Linked DNA regions of Homo sapiens: region 2 is linked to region 1. The links are contacts of gene promoters, found by promoter capture Hi-C in human tissues and cell types (Jung and others, 2019). All regions are on one chromosome and are shown on one strand. The core of a region is centred on a gene start or on the middle of the fragment in contact, and the rest is flanking DNA. Distances in the headings are between cores, read along the strand shown.

The links. Contacts are between HindIII fragments. The study calls those that stand out against the background at their distance.
Region 2: a contact is called between a fragment that was not itself captured here and the fragment with the promoter of SORL1 in region 1, in 1 of the 25 tissues and cell types used here (hippocampus).

What each region holds. Positions count from the first base shown.
Region 1 is chr11:121,449,379-121,454,669 of GRCh38, reverse strand. It overlaps SORL1 (sortilin related receptor 1), which reads right to left and starts at 2,356. Exons shown (of 48, transcript NM_003105.6): 1 at 2,054-2,356. The coding sequence starts at 2,338. It overlaps SORL1-AS1 (SORL1 antisense RNA 1), which reads left to right and starts at 1,703. Exons shown (of 3, transcript NR_183636.1): 1 at 1,703-1,995; 2 at 4,771-4,974. RefSeq lists silencers at 346-395, 2,240-2,289, 2,420-2,469 and enhancers at 1,520-1,569, 1,590-1,659, 1,700-1,749, 1,760-1,949, 3,340-3,399. The HindIII fragment of the contact is 11,875 bases long and covers 1-5,291 here.
Region 2 is chr11:122,521,918-122,527,208 of GRCh38, reverse strand. No RefSeq gene overlaps it. Among named protein-coding and RNA genes, the nearest start is that of TRK-TTT2-1, 35 kb to the left of the region's middle. The HindIII fragment of the contact is 3,246 bases long and covers 1,415-4,660 here.

The DNA of each region.
Region 1 (5,291 bases), core at 1,107-3,606:
AATTCCACTTCTTATTAACCTCAGAGCAAGAGGCAACAATGGCATAGGAAGGCAGCCACAGAGAAGAAAAATCTCACCCTTGTACCCTCACCCTCCGGTTAGGAATTCCTCATTATGAGTTTGACTGCTAGTTCTCCATCCTTCAGCTGAACCAAACTCAATCTGGCTGGCCCAGAAACTCAAAAGCCCAGGGTTTGGGAGTCACTCCCAGTGAGAACAGAGTTCATGTCCAACCTGCCCCACATCCCCTGGAGCTTTTCATAAACCAAACCCAAGAAAGAAATGGCACATGTACACATATTTTTGAAACCAGAAAACTTTTTCCTCAACCTAAACTATAGCTTCAGGGGACCTGAGCACTGGGAGGGATTGTCTCCCACCAGCCCCCAACTCCCAGTTCCCAGAATGCTGATTCAAGAGCACAGCAGAGCTGGGCTGACTGCGGAGGCCCAATGAAGAAGTGGGCCACTCCTCCTCCTTCTCCCACCCTCCATCAGCCCCATGCTGGTGTCGCTGTTAAGAGCAAGGACCTTGATGACTTCTTTTTGTTCATACACATATTTGTCATATGGGGTGGGGACAGGGGGACAAGGATCTGGGCCCAAGAGGAACTGAGCATGCAGGTTCCTGCAGCCTGTGGCCACCATTAGTTACATGCCCTGGGGCACACATTCTTGCCCAGGGACCAATAGTGGAGGGAAATCCAACGCTCCCACCCAGTCACCACCATCCTTTCCCCCTTTATACCAGATCTATTTTATTTTAGAAAGGAGGTATTTCAGCAGCATTGCATAAAGACAGGGTGACTGCAGTCAAGCAAAGGTCACTGAGACAATGCAGACAAAAACTAGAGAGCAGGCCACCTTCCCGGTATGACCTTGGACTAGTCACTTCACCATTCCACGCTTCAGTTTCTTCACCAACAAAATGACACAATAGGGTGATATGTTTACAAGGTTCGTCCTGGATCCAAGGGTTGAACATTTAACTCTGTATTTCCTGAAGAAATGGCTAAAGTGAAATTAGTGAGAAAAGGCAGAACTCAGGGTAATCTTTTATTAATAATTTCTACTTCAAAAGGAACAATTTGACTCTAGAAAACAAGTGTATTTACCCCCTCCTCTGGTCCTACTTTTTCTCCCCCACCGACCTTATACTTTTGCTGATGTCAATCTTAACTGCAGGACTGGGAGTCTCATGAGGCAATAACACGGTCAAATTAATTTTGCCAGTGCTGATCCTAACCTACAAACTCCATCTGCAATTCCTCGCAGTAAGTCTGACCATAAAAGTGAAATTCACGTTACTTATGATCTAATAAACCTATTGCCTGGGTAGAAATAAATCACTTATAGAATAATAATGCCCACCAAATTTCCTGCAGTCCTTTCAAATCTCCAAGTGCCATGAGGGGTATTCCTCTCCAAAATAAAGTTATCTTGACGGGGGTGGGAGAGTCAGCATCTTGAAGGGTGGGGAAGAAGGAATGGAGAGCATCTCACACGCTCGCCAAAAATTAAAAATTAAAAATTCAGCCTTTACACACGCACACACATACACACACCTCTTGTCTGACTGTACAGAGATAGTCGACAAGCTTTCAGGTTTGCCCACTTTTATTGTGCTAATAATGCTAAGTGTGGAAACCCCCACCTCGTGCTGTTCTGTGTAAGTGTACCGCAACTGCAGGGTGCTCGCCTCCACTGCCAACTGATGATACACTAAAGAAAGCCCGTTTTTTATCCAGATGTAAAATGAAGCTGCACCCCTCCTATACCTGCCGGAAACTACATCTCTCTGCACACACCCTGGGGTAATACGCACTGCACCCGGCGAGTTACCTGGAATACGTTTACTAAATCGACAGGAAGAAGGAAAGATCAATGCGATTCAAGTGCTGACGGTTGTACTCGTGAAGGAAAAAAACAAATGCAAGCCGGGAAGTCCCCAGTGGTGCCTGCACCTAGGAGGCGACTGCAACGGATGGATGCGGGGGTGAGGAAGTGCAGGGAGAGGAAAAAACTGGAGGGAGGCGGGTTGCAAAACTGCTCACCTGTCCGTACACCTTGATGGGCTCGGGCTGCAGGGCAGCGCTCCGTTTCCTCCGGAGCGGCTTCTCGTCCGCGCGGCTCGCCCCCCTGGCATCCCCGCGCGCCCACAGCCGCAGCTCGCGCGGGTCGCCCTGCACCACGAGGAAGCCCCGGTCCTGGGGCAAGGGCGCGCTGCCGCCGTGCAGCCTCTGCGTCCAGACTTCGCAGAGAGCTCCGGGCGGCAGCAGTGCGACCAGGGTGAATAGGAACGGGAGTCGCGACTCCCTCCTGCTGCTCCGTGTCGCCATGTTCGGGCGAACGCTACTGCAGGTGGCGCCGCCGCCAGGAGAGAATGTGCAGCGCGAGGCCAGGAGAGCCGCTGGGCCGGGACCGCGCGCGCCGCTCCCGGGGCTCCAGGCCGCCCGCGCCGCTCCGGGCCGCCCCGCTGCGCCCGCCGCCGCTGCCGCCAGGTCCCGCTCGGTTCGGCGCGGCGCCGTCACGTGTGAGGCTCGCAGCGCGTCCCTTTCGCGCACTTTCTGCGCTCGGCGGCCTCGGCGGCGACTCCGGCCCCTCCCTGGCGCGGGGATGGGGAAGTTAAGGCAGCGAGCGCCGGTGGGGGTGCGTCCCTTCCCTGGCGGGCACACCTCCTTGTTCTCCCTGCAGGAATGAAGAGTTGCATGGGGCTCGCTCGTTTTCTCTGGAGTTAGTTGCGTCCTATACAGGGTCGTGTCGAGGTCGTCCTAAACCGTGGCCACTTTCCTGAGTGCACAGCCCGCAGTAGCGCCACAAGACCACCTCCCCCCGGCCCCGGCCTCATCCCCACCTCCAGGGAAGAGTCCAGAGCCACAGAATTAGCTCCTAGAACGCAACCAACAAGAGTCCAGATGAACCCGCTCTATTGGGAAACTCACAGTTTTTCATCTACTCTGGGCACCACAACGTATTTGCAGGGGCCACAGCAAAAACTACCCTTGATCAAGCTACGTGCCCCAGCCTGAAGCACAGCAAATAAACATCCTGCACAGAGGCAGTAAAAACAAGGGTACATCTGACAAAGAATGCACCACACCTGGACAATTATTACACAGCTATACAGGGTGTGCTTGCACGCACGCATGAATACCTGTGCGTGGCACAGGGCCCCAGCGGCGGCTTGCTTATGATCCCTCCAAGGTGACCAAGCACTGAGCCACCCTGCCTCAGCAGTAAAATAGACATATTTACCAGTCCCTTCAACCCACAGCCAGGAGCTAGGCAAACACCCACAGAGGAGGGAGGACACACTTTAACCCTACATTCAGCTTGACGAGCCAAACTCTCTGAACCACAGGAGATAAAACTTCTGCCATGGAACTGCTAAGGTACGCCCAAGGAAAATATTTTTTTTGCAGGTTAGTGGGAGCAGCCAAAGTCTATGTACTACTGCAACCTTTCCTATTTCATTTTATGTTTCACTGCCCTCTGAACTCAGATCCTGGTTTTTGATAAGAATAAAGACACAGCAAGCAGGGCTGAAAGGGAGACTACCTTTATAGTTGCATACAAGCTGCTGTTCAGGGGAAGGAAGGGATGGTCAGTTCAATTTTCTAAAAACATTCCTCATCTCCGACAAGCCACGGTAGCCCGATTCCTACCCCGGCCCACTCTAGTACTTTTCAGGTAGCTTAGCAAAGCCCCCTCCTCTACCTAGGACTACCACTGACAACCTGCCAGAGTCAGGCCAGCTTGCCTCATCTCCCTGAAGCCAGTATTCAACCACCCTACCCTACCCCATGCCAGACTTGCTGGGGACCTCTGCCTCAGGTTCTGCACTCTCCCACCTCCTCCCACACCCGATTTTCTCCCCAAGTCAGATGATGTCTTTCTGTCCATCTCAACATAATTACAGAACCATCCAGTTCTCCCCACCAAGCAAATCATGCATTCTCTATGTTAACCACCCTGCTTTGTTCATTATACATTGTATACAGGTATCAAAATACCACACTTTCCCCAGTGTGGTATTATTGGGGTGCCTTCATCCTGCACCCCAACTTTGATGTTATTTCAGAGGGATTGAGGAAGTGGTAGCTTGTTTACAACCCAGAGCTGGTTTTGAAGCTGAGAGGAACGCCTTGCTCATATTGTGCAATTCAGCTCTAACTCATATATATAACATATATATTTATTATATACTTATATATGTCAATTAAAAATAATAATTCAAACAATCATGCATCCTCCAAGAAAGCCACTGAACCACTGTCACCTCCCACCCCTCATCTAGATCAGCTCTGTCTGGTCAGCATCACCTTACCAGGAATGGACAACCCCATGGTCTCTCAGGACCAGCAGCAAAGATATCTCTACTCCCATTTAGCCCTCAAAGGAAAATGAAGGGAATATGGCTAAAGTGAGAACATCCTGTAGATGATTCAATTATTGGGGTTTTTCCAACATATATTTAATGAGAACCTTCTCTGCAAGAGCAAGTGTCAGAGTCCCAGCAGAAAACAGAGACAGGAGTCTCCTAAGTGTGGATTTGAAGATGGGCATCTGTTTGCCCACACAAACTGCTGGCTTAAGGTTCAGATGGCCCCTTGCACAGAAGGACTAGTAGGGCAGGGCCAGCTACTTGCTCATTTTGATGTTGATTTGCAACTTGAATGCTAGAGAATTGGTAAGAATATTCAAACATGGTTAATTAACTCCTTGCAAGCCCTCCTATCTAATCATTATCTACATTCCAAACCATTCTCAGGTAGATAATCAGCAACCCCCCAAGACTGTGCCTGCTGCACAACTACAGAACGCAGTGGAAGACACGCTGAATTCTGAGTCAGAAGGTTGACTTTCTAGCTGTGGGGACTTGGCCAAACCTCCTCAGAGCTTCAGTTTTCTCATCTGTAAAATAGAGATCTTAATCCCTACCAATCTCACAGGACTGCTGAGAGTATCAGATGAGGTAAGTATATAAAATAGCTGTGCAAATTTGTGTGAAGGCCTCCAGAGAGAAATAGTGCATGCAGGTGGCATTAGAAACATAGATTCTAGTCCTGGCTTTGCAACCAAATTATTATGTAATTTTTTGTCTTGATCATCTTGTCTCTTACGATTTCTTCATAAGTTAAATGAAAAGACACCTTTCAGCCCTGACCACTCCCAAACCTTCAGGACCCCCACTGGGTTGTGAGATAGGAGCAGCCACAGGCAAGGTCACCCAGGACAGGAGTTAGAGCTGAATCGTGCAATATGAGTGAGGTGTTCCTCTCAGCTTCAAAA
Region 2 (5,291 bases), core at 1,788-4,287, 1.1 Mb before region 1:
ATGCTCATCAATGGTAGACTGGATAAAGAAGACGTGGTACATGCCATGGAATACTATGTAGCCATTAAAAATAATGAGATCATGTCTTTTGTGGGAATGTGGATAGAGCTGTAGGCTAAAATCCTTAGCAAACTAACACAGGAACAGAAAACCAAATACCACATGTTCTCACTTATAAATGGGAGCTAAATGATGAGAACACATGATCACATGGACACATAGAGGGGAACAACACACACTGGGGCCTATCAGAGGGTAGAGGGTGGAGGAATCAGGAAAAATAACTAATGAGTACTGGGCTTGATACCTGGGTGATGAAGTAATCTGTACAACAAACCCCCATGACACAAGTTTACCTATGTAACAAATCTGCACATGTACCTCTGAACTTAAAAGTTTAATTAAAAAAATTTTTTAGAAGTTTATCTTATTTTTCTTTGGAGCAGCATAAATAATATTTCAAATCACAAAAAGAAAACAAAATCACTTCATATCAGCATTGTATGGAACTTTCCATTTTTCTGTGTCCTATTATAGCTCTGTCTTTACAGATACATTTTTTTACCTAGTTCATTCATTACTGAATACCTATCATGTTAAAGACATTGCAACAGGTACCATGGACTTAGCAGTAAAAGAGAGAATACATGTTTCACAAGTTAGAAGCAGTGGTAGATAAATGTGCACACAATTACAGTACTCATTGAGTGCTGTCTTGGAGGAAAGTGAAAAGCACCACGGAGGACATAGGAGTGGCATCTAACACAGACTGGGAGGGCACTGCAGGGGAAGAGGAGCATTCAAAAAAGGCCTCCTAGAGAGGCCAGCATCTAAGTTAAATTAAGGTGAAGAAATACTTTCTTATTTTGCTTTTTCCACTTAGCTAAAAGTCATAGTGGACTCCAACGACACTTTCATGACTCTAAAAGTCCTTCCAGAAAGCTTGATTGGTTACCTGGTAGGAGACCCTGAAACTGCCTAGCTGAGGCATGAGCTGGTTCAGGGGCACATGGTCAGTCAACAGATCCACTTGGTGTCATGGGCAAATTGAGACCCAAGCTGGAAGACAGAACCAGAAATGTGAAGAGATCTGGGGGTTGAATACGGGGCATTGCAGCTGAATCTGGAGACCAGATATTTCTAAGTAGGACTGCTTCATCCTCCACAATTTTAAGAAGTGATATCTTCTGTTTCGGGTGAAAGGTTTAGTATGGATTGGACAGGGGAATAATTTCACCTGGCCAAAATCCTCAGTTGGGAGGGTTTTTTTTCTGAGGTCACATGAGGTCTTCACTGAATATCTGTGCTTCCTAGTGTCTTCCAAGGTTCCTGAGGACCTAATATTGGTTCCTACTGGTTACTTTCCTGTTCTGGGATTCCCTTATGCTGCCTTGCTTGGAAGCTGTGATAGAAAGCGAGGATTTTGAGCAAGGAGCCCTGGGCTCACCTAAGTGTCTGAGCCTCAGTTCCTCATCTGAAATGTTAGACACAATCACAGGGTGATTGTATGGAGCAGGTAGGAGTACATTTGTGAAAGTGTCTTATAAATTATGAACTACTATGTAGATAGCTCTTATTCTTACAGTTTAGAGATTCCTAGTCTTAGAGATGAGAGAAGTGAGGCCTGATAGTTTAGAAATGTCCTGGAAATGATGCCGAGCTTATAGAAATAAAAGGGGCTCCACTAATTGCCAAAGTAATGGAGCCTCAGGTTCTACCTTTACCTGGGATTGAAAGCACCTAGGGAGTGGACTAAACCATAGAGGTGAAGAGATGGAAAGAATTCTCACCAGCATTAGTCATCAACCTGGACAAATAAATGGCTGGTGGTCATCTAGAAACTTTTCATTAACAGTTTTTCCTGGATTGGTTTTAGGAATCAAAGCTTTGGCTTTGACACATTATTACACATTATTGGTGTAATAATGATCCCAACTGCAATCCTTCATATCTGCAAGGCACTTTAAAATTACCAAACACTTAGGCGTACACTATTCATCTGATTATTGCAGTACCATGGGAGGTACAGACAAGACAGATAGGTTCTTTGATGCCCAATGAATAAATTATGGGTAAGTGGTTTGTCTGAGGAGAGAAGGAATCATATACCAGGCACTACAGTACGTTCTTATGATACCCTGTGCTTTTAATCCTCTCAAGAACTCCATGAGAGGGGAGTTTAATCATGGCTTGATAGCTTAGTAATTAAATTTGCAGAGAGAGTAAGAAGTCAAATAAAGTCACACACAAGCAAGTGGCAGATGAGTGAGTGGAATGCAGGTCAGTTCTCTGACTCAAAGTCCTGTGTTATTTCCACCTTCCTCCTTAAAAAAAAGGAAAAGAAAAAGAAACTCTGTCTTACCTCCAATTGTTTCCAAATGGAAGCATATGGTTGGGCTGGTTGTTGAGTCTGAAATAAATAGCTTCTTTTAGACTGTTGAGACAGCCAAATGCTTTCAATATGCTCCCAAGGTTGGTGATTGGGTCTGAATAGAAGCCAGATGTTCTGGATTCCAGAGCTATTTCCTTGTTGCATGCTCTCCCCAACCCCCAACCCTCCATTAAATGGAGGGAAGGGAAGGTGAGATCAGACTGACTGATTTTGCTTTTTCACATCTTTCTCTTTGGAAGAAGGAGGTGAGGGAGTAGTTGAGATTGCAGTTGGGATGAAGCAGGCTGTGGGCTTGGGGTGGGATGTGGACTAGAAGAAAAATCACCAGAAAGAATGTGCAATCGCTTATTCCAGGCCTTTAGAATCCCTTTGCTGCCTGACCTTTCTGTACTCCTTCACAGTTGACAGCCCAGACTCGGCTTCCCGCTAGGAGGAAGTGCCCTGCAGTTAGTCTGCTGATTACTAAAACAGAACCATCATAGCACTTGGCAGCTCCGCTTCCTCCAAGCACTTTGGCAGATTTTTTTTTTTTTTCGATTTCTTGTTTTATTACTGTTTGTCAGACTGGGGAGCCTTTGAAGTTCTTTACAGATCTGACTTTTATCAGAGCATGTAGGAGTTGGGGGGTGGGAAATGGGTTGGATGCAACCCATCAAAATATTCTATTCTGCACCCAATGAACTCACCCCCACTACGTCTTTGTCTGAAAAGCTTTGTGACATGGTGTTTCTATACGTGGCCTGCCTTCCAGATGAGAGAGTGACATCTATTGTCGTAATATGGGGAGGAAGTTATGATTGCTTAATGATAGCATGTCGCAGCTTGTCGCTTCTTTATTTTCCTTTTAAATACTTGCTGTCACAGCAACACACAATTGGCCTTCAATCCTGGGGCTGAGGCTGGGACCTCATGTGGTACAAGGTGGTGCAAAGATGACTTATTGGTAAAGCTGGGGAAAACAAAAGTGAATACAAAATATTTCTGTATGCCTGGCTTGGTTCTCTCCTCCTCCCACCTTGATATGAGGCAGAGGACTTTTGACCATGTTGGCTGGCACTTTGTACACTGGCCTTGAAAGCACCGACACCGGCTTAAGCATGCTTGGTCTCCCAGATTCTGATGATCTTTCCTTGTCTGGTTTACTCTTAGAATCTAGAGGGCATTGTTCATGGAAACAGCAAGCAAAGGGTAAGAATGGTTCAAGTCTCTACTGGTTGCAGCAAATTTATTCATTCTGTGCTACCACTTGACTTAGCTTTCTGACAACAACAGTGACAACAAAAATCATTTCGATCCTATTTAATAATTAAATGTTAATCTCTTTTGTTCAAACGATGAAATACAAATTCCTCATGCCAACATGTAACATCTGTCTCGATCTGGTTCAGACCTACCAAAATCCACCTCCCACCACTTCAGATCCTTTGTGGTAGCCAGGCATCGTTCTTTGTTTCCTTAAATAAAATAATTTAAATTATGGCACATTTCAAACATAGGAAACAACTAGAAAACACATAGACACTTGTGAATCCATCATATAACTAGATGGGTACATTTTAAAAAATAACATTGAATGTAAAAAGAAAGTTGAAAAAAATATGTGCAGTTATATTTAAATTACTATTTAGTATTACTTATGCAAACTTTTAAGCACCCAAAGCCTTTTCTGTTTTCATCTGGCAAGTGTCTATTATCCTTTATGGCTCAGTTCAAATATCACTCCCCTCTCAAGTCTGTGACTTGTTCAGCAGAGTAACTCTTCCTCCTTTGTGACTTCCTGCCACTCATTTATACGGTTTTCCATTACTAGTTAATACTGCTGGTGTTATAATTTCTAATTTCATGATGGTCTCCTCCACTAAGCTGTGAGCTCCTTAAGGATAACGACTGAGTTGCATTTTTCTTTGTCCACTTGGGACATAAACCCATGATAATTGTCTTGCAAGTTTTGTCAGACTAAAATATCATTATATGGCACAAAACCATGATCTAACTATAGGCACACTAAAGTACAATTTAAAGTTTGATTCCCAGTCTTTTTTGTTTGTTTGAGACTGAGTTTCACTGTATCACCGAGGTTGGAGTGCAGTGTGCGATCTCGGCTCACTACAACCTCTGCCTCCTGGTTTCAAGTGATTCTCATGCCTCAGCCTCCCAAGTAGCTGGAATTACAGGTGCCTGCCACCACACCTGGCTAATTTTTTGTATTTTTAGTAGAGATGGGGTTTCACCATGTTGACCAGGCTGGTCTCGAACACCTGACCTCAAGTGGTCCTCCCGCTTCGGCCTCCCAAAGTGCTGGGATTACAGGCATGAGCCACTGCACCCAGCCAGATTCCCAGTCTTAATAGCAACAACAGCTATCTTTTACTGTTTACAAAGTGCTTTCAAATTCATTAACTCTATTTTGCTTCATTATAACTCTTTAAAGTATGTACTGAAGACAGCATTGCTATTAAATGAAAGAAGAAACTGTGATTTAGAGAAGTTAAATGACTTGTTCATTGCCACACAGCTCAGAGGTGATGGAATTATCTCACTGGCTTTAAATGAAATGCTCTTTTATTATGAGTTTTTGAATTGGTGTTAACACCACAAATCAATTCCTCCTTTTCTCTATTCCTTTCTTCTTCTACCTTCCTTCTTCTTTCTCCTCATTTTTTAATTCTTGTAACAAATGTTAATTGAATACCATCTATCTGCATTGTATTAGCTTCTGGGGATAAAATAATAATTAAAACTAGTCCTGCTTGTGGCTCCTGTGGAGATAACAGTCATCTGGAGAACTTGAAATCCTTCTAAACGATACACAGCATGCAGGCTGGTAAATGTTTGGTAACTCCTTGCAAGACTGTGTTATGCTAGAATGGTGGTAGTAAGATGAAATGTTTCCTGATGC